4 separate regions of the Homo sapiens genome follow, and regions 2, 3 and 4 are each linked to region 1. Evidence: promoter capture Hi-C in human tissues and cell types (Jung and others, 2019). All regions are on one chromosome and are shown on one strand. Each heading gives the region's core, a stretch centred on a gene start or on the middle of the fragment in contact. The rest is flanking DNA. Distances are from core to core; before and after follow the strand shown.

Evidence for each region. The method cuts DNA at HindIII sites, captures the fragments that hold promoters and counts their contacts. A contact is called where the count stands out against the background at its distance.
Region 2: a contact is called between a fragment that was not itself captured here and the fragment with the promoter of P2RX4 in region 1, in 2 of the 25 tissues and cell types used here (dorsolateral prefrontal cortex and lymphoblastoid cells).
Region 3: a contact is called between a fragment that was not itself captured here and the fragment with the promoter of P2RX4 in region 1, in 1 of the 25 tissues and cell types used here (liver).
Region 4: a contact is called between a fragment that was not itself captured here and the fragment with the promoter of P2RX4 in region 1, in 1 of the 25 tissues and cell types used here (mesenchymal stem cells).

What each region holds. Positions count from the first base shown.
Region 1 is chr12:121,208,404-121,211,588 of GRCh38, forward strand. P2RX4 (purinergic receptor P2X 4) reads left to right here and starts at 1,726. Exons shown (of 12, transcript NM_002560.3): 1 at 1,726-1,895. The coding sequence starts at 1,762. It overlaps LOC105370032 (a long non-coding RNA gene), which reads right to left and starts at 1,669. Exons shown (of 4, transcript XR_001749352.3): 1 at 1,446-1,669. RefSeq lists a silencer at 1,432-2,171 and an enhancer at 2,502-2,551. The HindIII fragment of the contact is 10,060 bases long and covers 1-3,185 here.
Region 2 is chr12:121,407,800-121,410,984 of GRCh38, forward strand. All of the region lies in intron 1 of RNF34 (ring finger protein 34), which reads left to right. It also overlaps a transcript of KDM2B not described here. Among named protein-coding and RNA genes, the nearest start is that of RNF34, 9.3 kb to the left of the region's middle. The HindIII fragment of the contact is 7,296 bases long and covers 1-3,185 here.
Region 3 is chr12:121,042,144-121,045,328 of GRCh38, forward strand. No RefSeq gene overlaps it. Among named protein-coding and RNA genes, the nearest start is that of OASL, 4.5 kb to the left of the region's middle. The HindIII fragment of the contact is 8,761 bases long and covers 1-3,185 here.
Region 4 is chr12:121,363,512-121,366,696 of GRCh38, forward strand. No RefSeq gene overlaps it. Among named protein-coding and RNA genes, the nearest start is that of ANAPC5, 13 kb to the left of the region's middle. The HindIII fragment of the contact is 3,500 bases long and covers 1-3,185 here.

The sequences.
Region 1 (3,185 bases), core at 476-2,975:
AGAAGCAAGCAGATGAGAGCGGTTAGAGACATCGTGGTATATTTTCCGGAAGAAATGGTCCATGGATTAAAAATTGTCATTATGATGAGTCTGCAGTAACACAGAAACCACGTAGTGCGAATCAGAAAATGAAAAGCACAGCCATTGACTATGATTACAAACCAAAACTTTATACCAATTACCTGTTGGAATTTATGCTGCATGAAGGCAGGATATTTTGCTTGTCCTGTTCACTGGACAGTACTTGGCATAAAGGATGTGCTTATGAATATTTTCTGGGAAACTAAATATAACATTCACCTGTGAAAACACATCTGGGCCAGGCGCAGTGGCTCACGCCTGTAATCCCAACACTTTGGGAGCCCGAGGCGGGTGGATCATGGGAGGTCAGGAGCTGGAGATCAGCCTGGCCAACATGGTGAAAACCTGTCTCTAATAAAAATACAAAAATTAGCTGGGCGTGGTGGCGGGCACTTGTAATCCCAGCTACTCAAGAGGCTGAGGCAGGAGAATTGCTTGAACCTGGGAGGCGGAGGTTACAGTGAGCCGAGATCGCGCCACTGCACTCCAGACTGGACAAGAGTGAAACTCCGTCTCAAAAAAAAAAAGAAAAAGAAAAAGAAAAAACGTATCTGAAGGGAATGAACAAATACACATGCGGAAAATTGTATTCATGGGGTAGAACGGTGGCTGTTTCCCCCCCTTTCACTATTTTCTCTCCTAAAGTTGTGATAGCATTTTCTCAGTGGAAAGGATGACCACAGAATTATCTCCCCTGGGCTGCAACTAAGGAAGTATTTGGAGTGAGAATGCGACCAGGCTTCAAATCCAGGAGGGGTATTTTACAGGGCGTGTGGCTCTCACCCAGGGCTCACAGGACACCTGATATTTAGGCTGTTCCCCAAGAGGCTAAGGACAGCGCGGCCCCAGCTCCCCCAACCACAGCTGCCCAAGTTTAGGAGCCCGCACTCGTGAGCGATGGCTACTCCGCACAGCCCCGGGGTCCTCTACGGAAATCCCTGGCACCTATCAGTACCCCTAAGGGAGGTCGCTCGTTACCCCTCACTTGAACTCTGTCCCAAATGGGAGGTCACTCTCTCTTCGCGGACCCCATCTTCCCCGAAAGGGTCTCTTGTTCTCTCTGGCCCTCCTGAGAAGGTCATTACTCCCCAACTCGCCTTTTTTGTTGTTTTTTGGTTTCTGGTTTATTGAGGCAGGGTCTCGCTTCATCTCCCAGACTGGAGTGCAGTGGCGCGATCACAGCTCACACGGCAGCCTCTACCTCCTGGGCTCAAGCGATCCTCTCACCTCAGCCTCCCTGGGACTACAGGCGAGCGCCACTACGCCCGCTTTTTTTTTTTTTTTTTTTTTTTTTTTGTATTTTTGATAGAGACGAGGTCTCGCTATGTTGTCCAGGCTGGTCTCTAACTCAAGATTCCTCTCACCTCGGCCTCCGCAAGTGCTGGGATGACAGGTGTGAGCCACCGCCCCCGGCCCCTCGCCCGCCTTTTGAAGGAGCCTTTCGTCCTCAAGGGCGAGGCCACTCCCCCCCCGCGAGTTCCATGCCCCCTAGAGGGTCATCGTTCCCGACGGGGAGGTGGCGCCCTCCCCCGGGCCCCGGGCCCCGACCGCCCGTGCTGCCTCCTTCCGGGCCCTCCTCCGCGATGACGGCGCCGCCAGCAGGCCAGGCGGACTGGGCGGGGCTCCGAGCGGGGACTGGGACCCAGACCGACTAGGGGACTGGGAGCGGGCGGCGCGGCCATGGCGGGCTGCTGCGCCGCGCTGGCGGCCTTCCTGTTCGAGTACGACACGCCGCGCATCGTGCTCATCCGCAGCCGCAAAGTGGGGCTCATGAACCGCGCCGTGCAACTGCTCATCCTGGCCTACGTCATCGGGTGAGCGTGGGGCCGCGCGGGGGGCGCGGCGGGTGCTGCCCTCGCGTCCGCGCCGTGCGGCGGCTCATCCTGGCCTCGGTCACCTGGGCGAGTCCGGGAGCGGCGAGCCGAGGCGGTGACACCTTCCCTGGGCCCCAGCCGCCGCGCCGGGGCCCCGGGGGCGGGAGGCTGCTTGCTGCTGTTTTAAAACCACAGCCTGGGCCAGGCGCGGTGGCGCAAGCCTGTAATCCGAGCACTTTGGGAGCCCGAGGCGGGACCATCGCCTGAGCCCAGGAGTTCGAAACCAATTTGGGCAACATCGTGGGACCCCGTCTCTGCAAAAAATTAAAAATCATCCGGGCCTGGTGGCGCGCGCCTGGGGTCCCAGCTACTCAGGAGGCTGAGGTGGGAGGATCGCTTGAGCCCAAGAGGCTGAGGCTGCAGTGAGCTATGATCACACCACTTAACTCGAGCCTGGGAGACAGTCCGAGACCCGTCTGTTTACAAAATAAATAAAGGCAAAGCCTGGCTAGGCTGTTACCCTCTCCTGCCTGACCCCCCATAGTGCCCCTTGGCTGTAGGGGCTTCGCCCTGAACGTCTCAATCTTCGCTCTCCACTTCCCATCCTGCTGATTTGCTGACAAAACCAAAGCTTGGAATTTCCGCTTGGTTCCTTCTGGGTGGGTGGCTTTTGGTCATTTCTTTTGATCACTATGCGGTGTCACTATGTGGTAGTAGCGAGGTCAGACTGTAGCGAGTGTTTAAAGTTTGCTTCCTTTGTTTTCTGGGCTTGTGGGGCTTTTTGTGGTACCTGCCCTAGCCTAGTCAGTCATTCCCCATGCTGCCCCCTTAGGCTAGAGATGCCCTACCGCCCTCAGGCCTCGCTGAATGTGCCATTGTACTTGAAGGCACCTGTTACTTTTTTAATTTTTTTATTTTTTTGAGACGGAATTTCTCTCTTGTCGCCCGGGCTGGAGTGCAATGGCACGATCTCGGCTCACTGCAACCTCTGCCTCCCGGGTTCAAGCAATTCTCCTGTCTCAGTCTCCTGAGTGGCTGGGATTACAAGTGCCCGCCACCACGCCCGGCCAATTTTTGTATTTTTTAGTAGAGACGGGGTTTCAGGCTGGTCCTGAACTGACCTCAGGTGATCCGCCCACCTCAGCCTCCCAAAATGCTGGGATTACAGGCGTGAGCCCCCACGCGGGGCTGGCACCTGTTACAATTGAATACAACGCGAGAGAGAAGATGATAATTACCTTGCCACCTGGGGCCACTTTAAAGGCTTACCTGGGGTGTTCTGGTGTCTAC
Region 2 (3,185 bases), core at 316-2,815, 200 kb after region 1:
CCTTGTTGGTTATGACCCTACCGGATATGGTAACTGGGTTCCAAGGAAATATAACAGAGGCAGAGTGTGAAGAGCTCAGAAAATAGATTGGCATATGTTCCCCCCATCCCTTGTCCCCCTCTCCACTGTAAGAGCTCAGATTCAATAAACCCTTGGGGAAATTGTCTTTTAAATAGTTCTCCAATTGCTTTTATAGGTTCTGTCAAGTCATAACAGAAAATGTGGGCCAAGCGTGGTAGCTCATGCCTGTAATCCCAGTGATTTGGGAGGCTGAAGCAGAAGGATCCCTTGAGCCCTGGAGTTTGAGATCAGCCTGGGCAGCATATCAAGACCCCGTCTCTAAAAAAATAAAAATAAATGGCCAGGTGTGGTGGCTCACGCCTGTAATCCCAACACTTTGGGAGGCTGAGGCAGGCAGATCACCTGAGGTCAGGAGTTCGAGACCAGCCTGGCCAACATGGTGAAACCCCGTCTCTACTAAAAATACAAAAAATTACCAGGGTGTGATGGCAGGCACTTGTAATCCCAGCTACTTGGGAGGCTGAGGCACAAGAATCACTTGAACTCAAGAGGCAGAGGTTGCAGTGAGCCAAGATCATACCACCGCACTCCAGCCTGGGTAACAAGAGTGAAACTCTGTCTAAAAAATAAAAATAAAAATAAAAATAAATAAAAACTAGAAAATGTGTACAGATTTAAGAGGGGAAAGATCAGTATAGGACACTTCAAGCACTGTTAGGTGAGTGTCAAGGTGACAGTTGTAGGTAGAGATGCCTTTGCCCTGAGGAGGCATGCAGAATAAATTTCTGAAATTTATGAGAAAGTACAGGAAGATGAAACATACTAAAGGAGAGCCAGGTAGATGGAGTCCAGGCTTGGAAGGATTTATCTTCTGGATGGATTCTTCATCCTGGAGGTGAAGAAGGACAAAAACACTTTGAACAATGGCTGCTTTTGATAGACCCAGAAATCACTGACTTTCTCCTCATATTGGGAGATTTCACACAAGAAAACGTGCAGAGGAGTTAAGGTGGGAAATAAAAGTTGGGGCCCAAAGGCAAAGAGCAAATAAAATCAAGGAGAGCACCAAAGTCCAGCAAAAGTTACAGGCCAATCTGTGGTAAAAAGGAAAGGGATTCATTGAAGAATCAGATTGTTAAAAACTCAGGTGACCCTTTCTTTTTTTTTTTGAGATGGAGTCTTGCTCGGTCACCCAGGCTGGAGTGCAGTGGTACAGTGGCGTGATATCTGCTCACTGCAACCTCCACCTCCCAGGTTCAAACGATTCTCCTGCCTCAGCCTCTCGAGTAGCTTGGACCACAGGCGTGCACCACCATGCCCGGCTAATTTTTGTATTTTTAGTAGAGACGGGGTTTTACCATGTTGGCCAGGCTGGTCTCAAACTCCTGTCCTCAGGTGACCTGCTGGCCTCGGCCTCCCAAACTGCTGGGATTATAGGCATGGACCACAACACTTGGCCAAAACTTAGCTGACCCTTTCTTAAAGGATTGGGTAAAACCAAAGTGGGATGCAAAATACTACATATCCCACAACAGAAAAACATGTAGACAGGTCTTGGGGAGTATGTTGCCGAGGCATTAGTTCCAGAACTCTAGGGCCACAGGCTTCCAAAGTAACCACAGCCCTTTCCACTCAGGAATTTGTGGAGGGTGATGTCCCAGCTGAAACAGTGTAGGCAGGAAGAAGACATCTTCCCTTTGACTGAGCAGGTCTTAAGCTTTTAACCTGGCCTGTATATCAGAATTACCCAGGGAGTTTTCAAAAAAATTCTGGTGCCCAGGCTGCACCACAGACCAGTGAAATCAGAACCTCTGGGCCTGGGACCCCAGGAATCAGTATTTTTAAAGACTTGCCTGGTGAGTCCAACATGCAGCCAAGGCTGAAAACCATTCTCTTAAGGGCAGTTTCACAACCCTAGGCAATTCCTTAGCAAGAAGTACTGACAGCAGCTACGAAGGTACAGGACTAAAACACCTGTTTCACTGAAGGGCAGCGGGGGTGGGTGTTACCTGGCACTTCAGTGCTAAAATGAATGTAAAGAAATTATGTTCATGGCCAGGCGTGGTGGCTCATACCTGTAATCCCAGCACTTTGGGAAGCCGAGGCGGGCGGATCATCTGAGGTCAGGAGTTCGAGACCAGCCTGACCAACATGGAGAAACCCTGCCTCTACTAAAAATACAAAATTAGCCGGGCATGGTGGCAGATGCCTGTAATCCCAGCTACTAGGAGGCTGAGGCAGCAGAATCGGTTGAACCTGGGAGGTAGAGGTTGCGGTGAGCCAAGATCGTGCCATCGCACTCCAACCTGGGCAACAAGAGCGAAACTCCGTCTCAAAAAAAAAGAAAAGGAATTATGTTCATTTCAGCACTGGGATGCCAGGAAATATGGGGCTTAAAGGGGAGATGGAAATTAAAATTTTCAAATATGCTGCATGGGGCTGGCGTGGTGGCTCATGCCTGTAATCCCAGCTCTTTGGGAGGCTGAGGCAGGCGGATTACGAGGTCAGGAGTTCGAGACCAGCCTGGACAACATGGTGAAACCCCGTCTCTACTAAAAATACAAAAATTAGCCGGGTGTGGTGGTGGGTGCCTGTAATCCCGGCTACTTGGGAGGCTGAAGCAGGAGAATTGCTTGAACCCGGGAGGCAGAGGTTGCAGTGAGCCGAGATTGCGCCACTGCATTCCATCCTGGGCAACAGAGCAAGATTCTGTCTCAAAACCACCAAAAAAAAAAAAATGCTGGATGGGAAAAAAAAAAATACTTCAAATATACTAGTGACAGGGGCTTCCCCTGCTTCAAATTTCTGAACTTTCCAGAAGGCTGGAGTGTTGCAAATGCTCCTCTCAGAGATGATAACTATAAGTGGATTTGCCCTTCAATATGATGCTAAGGTTATTCTCTCACTGGGAGATCATGTTCTCATTGGAAGATTTTGCCCAAATTTAAGTTCAGAGATTCTAATGAGGCTGCAACCTAAATTTTTCAGGATTGCTTCTTTACCTTCTATTCCTGTAGTATTTGGCTGACAGTAGTTAATATGTGTCTGAGTTGTACTGAATATTGGGTTATAGCAACATTTTTGCCTGGGACACTTTGGAGGTTGGCTTGGGCTTTTTTGTTGTTTGTTTTTGAGACAGGGTCTCACTCCGTCACCCAGGCTGG
Region 3 (3,185 bases), core at 306-2,805, 170 kb before region 1:
TTGTTGCCCAGGCTAGAGTGCAATGGCACAATCTCGGCTCACTGCAACCTCCACCTCCCAGGTTCAAGCGATTCTCCTGCCTCAGCCTCCTGAGCAGCTGGGATTCAAGGTGCCCACCGCCACACCTAGCTGATTTTTGTACTTTTAGTAGAGACGGTGTTTCACCATGTTGGCCAGGCTGGTCTCTAACTCCTGACCTCAGGCGATCCACCCGCCTCGGCCTCCCAAAGTGCTGGGATTACAGGCGTGAGCCACCGCACCCAGCCAGGATATAAGATCTTTTTAAAAAGATTTATTCCATAAACAAGGAGCAGGAGTGGATAGGATCTTGAAGACGACTGTTAGGAGTTGGCTTTACTCTGAATGAAATGGGGAACCACTGGGGAGCATTTTTTGTTGTTCTGTAGGAGTCTGACACCATACATTGGAGAGTTTTGAGTGGAGGAGTGACACGGTCTTTCATTTTAATGGAATTAATCACATTGGCTGCTGGGAGGAAATTAAATTAGAAGCAGAGGGTGGAGTGGAGGTGAAAGTGGAGGCAGAAGTATGGTTAGGAGGCTACTGCAACAGTCCAGGCAAGAGGTCAGTTGACTTGGATCAGAGTGGTAGCAGTGAAATAGTATGTTTTAATTTTTCTGATTTTGGAACATTTCAAACAAAGTGGAATAATACAATGAACCTCCATGTACCATCACCAGTTTCAACAATGATCAACTTATAGACAGTCTGGTTTCAATTCTACCCCCATCCCTAGATTCCCTACTGTGTTATTTGGAAGTGAATCTGGACATCATGTCATTCCGCTGGATATATTTTGACTCCAAGGCTGACAGGTCTTGCTAATGGGTAGAGTATGATGAGAGAGAAAGATCAGAGTCAAGGTCTAAGTCCGGGGCTTTTGGCCTTAGCAACAGAAAGGTTGAACTGCCCTTAACTGAGGTGGGATAGGCTGGGCATGGAGATGAGGAAGGAACTCAGTTTTGGAACTGAAGTTTGGGGTGTCTGTCAGAGACCCAGGTGGAGATATGTGGTGGGGAGTTGGATATGCGAGTCTGTATTACAGGGAGGAGGTCTGGACTTGAGATAAAATGTGGGGGTCACCGGCATAGGGATGTTTAAAGCCATGACACTGAATGAGATCACCAAGGGAGTGATGACACAGCAGGAAGAGAAAAAGACCCAGGACTGAGCCCCAGAGCACTTAATATTATTCGGAGTTTAGGGAGTTGCACGAGTCCAGCAAAGAAGAAGGAAAAGAAGTAGCTAGTGAGGTGGAAGAGAAATCAGGAGTGATGGTTTGAAGGCCAAGTGAAGATATTGTTTTAAGAAAGAGGAAATGGGATGGGCATGGTGGCTCACACCTGAAATCCCAGCACTTTGAAAGTCAAGATGGGAGGATCGCTTGAGCCCAGGAATTCAAGATCAGCCTGGGCAACATGGCAAAACCCCATCTCTACAAAAAAATACAAAAATTAGCCAGGTATGATGGTGAGTGCCCATAGTCCCAGCTACTCAGGAGGCTGAGGTAGGAGGATCACCTCAGTCCAGGGAGGTCGCGGCTGCAGTGAGCCATGATCATGCTACTGCACTCCAGCCTGGGTGACAGAGTGAGACCCTGTCTCAAAAAAAAAAAAAAAAAAAAAAGGAGAAGAAGAAGAAGAAGAAATGGAAATGATCCACTGGGTTAAAAGAGTGCCAGGTGAATCTGCTTTTTGTCCTGAGGGCAGTGGCAAATTTAGGGGAGTGGCATGTAGTGGAGTTAAGATTGGTCTGGCTGCTTCCATGGTGAGGACGAACCGCAGAGGGCAAGGGCAGATGCAGGGAAATGCATTAGGACACTTCGCAGGGGTGCAGGTGATAAGCAGTGAGGCCCAAGACAAGGCTGGAAGCAGTGCAGGTGGAGAAGAGGGGTTGGATTCTAGGTCTATTTTGGAAGAAGGGTGGGCAGGGCTTCTTGTTGACTATAGGTGAGGGGCAAGGAGAAGACAGGGATGACTCCCAGCTCTCTGGCTTGTGTCCTTGAGTAACTGTTGGAGCCACCATTCCCAAGGAGAGAAGGAGGAGTGGGTATGGCTGTGGGGAGTTCGAGGGGTGCATTTTGGATAATGATTTGGTAGTACCCAAGGATGAGAAGCGAGTGACCTGCTCCATGTAAAGACATATTTGATTTCCCTCAGTATACACGTGGTCACTGGTACCTTGGGGAAGAATGAATCACACCAAAATGAACTAATGTAGAGACAGAGTCTCGTTCCATCTCCCAGGCTGGAGAGCAGTGGTGCAATCATAGCTCACTGCAGCCTCGAACCCCGGCTCAAGCAATCCTCCCACCTCAGCATCCCAAAGTGCTGAGATTGCAGGCATGAACTGCTATGCCTGGCCAAGCCCCAAATTTAAGTGATGAGCAGAGGAAGAGAAATTTAGGCGGTACCTGCTGGGGTGGCCAAAGAGGTGGGCATAACCAGAGTTAAAAAAAAGTCACCCACATTGCTGAATGCTTCTGAAAAGTTAAGAAATACAGACCTGAAAAGTACTCAAGAAAACGACTGGTGATCAAGGTGGGCACAGTTTTAGGCGAGAGGAGGGAGCTGAAGCCAGATTAGGCTGGGTGGGGTCGGGGGCATGGAGACCAGAAGTGCAGATGATTCTTTCAAGGAGTTTGTCCATCATGACACATTCCAATTTAACTTTTCAAACTGGCTAACCCCAAGTGGAAAGCATCACATATTTTAATTACATAAATTATAAAAGTTCTTATATTTCCAGTGTTTGGTAGTACCTGATCCTTCAGCAATACCATATTATGAGGATTTAAAGAGCAGTGACAATTTCACAAAGCTAAGTCAACAACCGGTTAAGACTCCAAACATTTGCCATATGGTTACGATGACTGACAATGAACTTCAAGGCAATATAGAAGTTATTCAAACAATAAACATTCAGACCTTAACCTATTGGTTTTTTATTCGACTTCGTGAAATCTCTGAGGGTTACATAGCTTTCAATTATTTGATCATTAATATGTTGGATGACATTTGAGGATTTCAAAAGGGAACATGAAATCAGTAATGTGTTGGTTTTATGGTTTGTTAAAATACCACCCAGTTGAGCAGGCATCTGCAGGGAGGGAGAAGAGCCAGTGGATAGGAAGGGGCTGAGCTAGGTTTTGAGCAGGAGAAAGA
Region 4 (3,185 bases), core at 351-2,850, 150 kb after region 1:
GTAGCTGGGATTACAGGTGCCCGCCACCACACCTGGCTAATTTTTGTATTTTTAGCAGAGACGAGGTTTCACCATGTTGGCCAGGCTGGTGTCGAACTCCTGACCTCAGGTAATCCACCCGCCTCGGCCTCCCAAAGTGCTGAGATTACAGGCGTGAGCCACCGCGTCCAGTCCATATTTCACCCTTTTATAAGGATACCAGTCATATTGAATTAGAGACCCACCCTGATTCATAGGATCCCATATTTTAACTAATCTACATCTGCAATGGCCCTATTTCCAAATAAGGTTACCTTCTGAGTTATTCAGGGTTAGGGCTTTAACATATAAATTTGGGCAGGTAGAAGCGGGGGACACAATTTCCCACAATGATAAAATGCAGTAAGGTTTGGAGGAAACTGACAGTTTCACACAGTACTGGAAGGAATATGAATTGATAGAGCCCTTAGAAGGGTTTATCCATCAGAGAGCAGGCAGGAAACAGAAGCTACAAACAAAAAGATGAATACAGAGAATTGGTTCCACAAGTAATGAAAGATCTAAGAACCCAAATGGGACAGAGATTAGCAATAAAGCTGGGTGCAGTGACTCACACCTATAACTCCAGCACTTTGGGAGATCAAGGAGGAAGAATTGCTTGAGCCCAGGAGTTCAAGACCAGCCTGGGCAACATAGCAAGACCTTGTCTCTACAAAAAAAGTTTAAAAATTGCTGGATGTGGGCTGGGCATGGTGGCTCATGCCTGTAATCCCAGCACTCTGGGAGGCCAAGGCGGGCGGATCACATGAGGTCAGGAGTTCGAGACTGGCCTGACCAACATGGCAAAACCCTGTCTACTAAAAATACAAAAATTAGCCAGGCATGCTGCCGTACGCCTGTAATCCCAGCTACTCAGGAGGCTGAGACAGGAGAAGTGCTTGAACCCAGGAGGCAAAGGTTGCAGTAAGCTGGAGATCCCGCCACTGTACTCCAGCCTGGGTGACAGAGCAAGACTCTGTCTCAAAAAAAAAAAAAAAATTGCTGGGTGTGGTGACACACACTTGTATTCCCAAATACTTGGGAGGCTGAGCAGGGAGAATCTCGGGATCCCAGGAGGTCAAGGCTGCAGTGAGCCACAATTTTGCCACTGCACTCCAGCCTGGGCAACAGAGCAAGACCCTGTCTCAGAGAGAGAGAGAGGGAGAGTGAGAGAGACAGAGAGGGAGAGAGAGAGACAGAGAGGAAGAAGAAAAAGAGGAAGAGGAAGACGAAGATGAAGAAAAAGAAGAAGAAGAAGATGAAGACGAAGAAGAAGAAAGAGAGAGAGAGAATGAGTAACAAGATCGTGCCACTCCCAAGTCGAAATGGACAAAGGAAGTGGTGAGCAGCTAGAGCCACTGAGAAGGAGTTGGTGATGCCAAGTAAAATACAGCCACTGTTGGAGGATGTTGCCTGAGGCAGAGAGAAAGGGCAAGAAATTCTGAAGCTTCTCCTTTTCCCTTGTCCTCCAATCTCCCTGTGGGGTATCCTATTAGTTCAACCCATCAGGGTGACTCAGGAGCCAGGAAAAGAAGCCTGTGACCACCACTATCTAATTCCAGAACATTTCCATCTCCCTAAAAAGAAACGCCATACCCAGTAGCAGTCACTCCCTATTCTCCCTCCCCCAACTCCTGGCAAGCACGAACCTACTTTCTGTCTCTGTAGATGGACCTATTCTGGAAATTCCATTCTGATGGATTTATACAGTATGTGGTCTTTTGTGTCTGGCTTCTTTTCATTTAGCTTCATGTTTCTGAGGTTCATCCACACCGTAGCATGGATCAGGACTTTATCCCTTTTTATGCCTAATATTCCATTGTATGGATAGACCACGTTTTGTTTATCCACTCAACAGTTCATGGACACTTGGGCTGTTTCCCACCTTTTGGCTATTGTGAATAGTGATGGTATGAACATTCACATATATGTTTTTGGATGAACATAGGTTTTCAGTTCTTTGGGTTACATACCTAGGAGTGGAATTTCTGGGTTGTATGCTAACTCTACATTTAACTTCTTGAGGAACTGCCAGACTGTTTTCCAAAGTGGCTGCACCATTTTACATCCACCAGCAATGACTCTACATTTCAATGAGCATGAGAAACCCAGCTTGCTATTTAACCATGAATCATGTTCAGCAATGTGATGATTTTGAAAGAACTAAATAATTATCAAAGATTTTAAAGTTATTCTGAGTAATGGATGATTATATTCCTGATTTCATGTATCTCTGAACACTGTACACCCCGAGTAGAATTGTGCCAGCTAGAGCCAATTTTCTCCATTGTTCATTAGACAGAAGTTCACCAGCAGCTAAGTGCTGACACATCATTCCCAGCATCCACCCCGGATGGGAAAGCCAGCAGTGTCACCGCACGCATGCTGGACCTGCTGCTGCTCAGATCTAAAACTTCTGAAAATGACAAACCCTAACCCTACAATTCTGAGACATGATGTTAGAGGGAATGGATAATTGCTCTGATTCCTCTGGGCAAGGAAAATGTAATGTGTGAACCGGTTCTCCTGTGTGCATGCATAAACACTCTCTTTTGATAATCCAAGAAAATCCAGCTGAAAGGGGGAAAAATGTCTCCTATTGAATAAAATGAGGCCTGACTTTGAGAAAGTCACGCAGAGTCTTAGGACTCACTCAATACAGAAAGTTCTGGGTAATTAACTGAGCTGCTGGGGAAACTCGATCGCTAGCCTGATAAGCATCACTAAGTATTTCCAGATCCAAGGTAGCATTTCAGCTTCTCAAGGCTCACGAACTGAATTGACCTCCCTCCCTGGGGAAAGGAATTCTCATTGTTGTCTCTGGACCACTTGTTTCATCCAAAGCCTCCTGAGTAACTAGGACTACAGTTGCACACCACCATGCCCAGCTAATTTTGTTTATTTTTTGTAGAGACAGGTCTCCCTATGTTGTCCAGGCTGGTCTCGAACTCCTGGAATCAAGCGATCCTCCAGCCTCTACCTCCCAAAGTGCTGGGACTATAGGCATGAGCCACTAAGCCGATCCATATTTTCTCAGGTATTATAAAAAGTGATACATACTGTTTGCAGAAAACATCAAAAATATAGAAAAGGAGAACAAGATAAATCAGAAATAGGAAAACTATCATTCCACAACCCAGTGATAACTTCTATGTCATTTTGATATA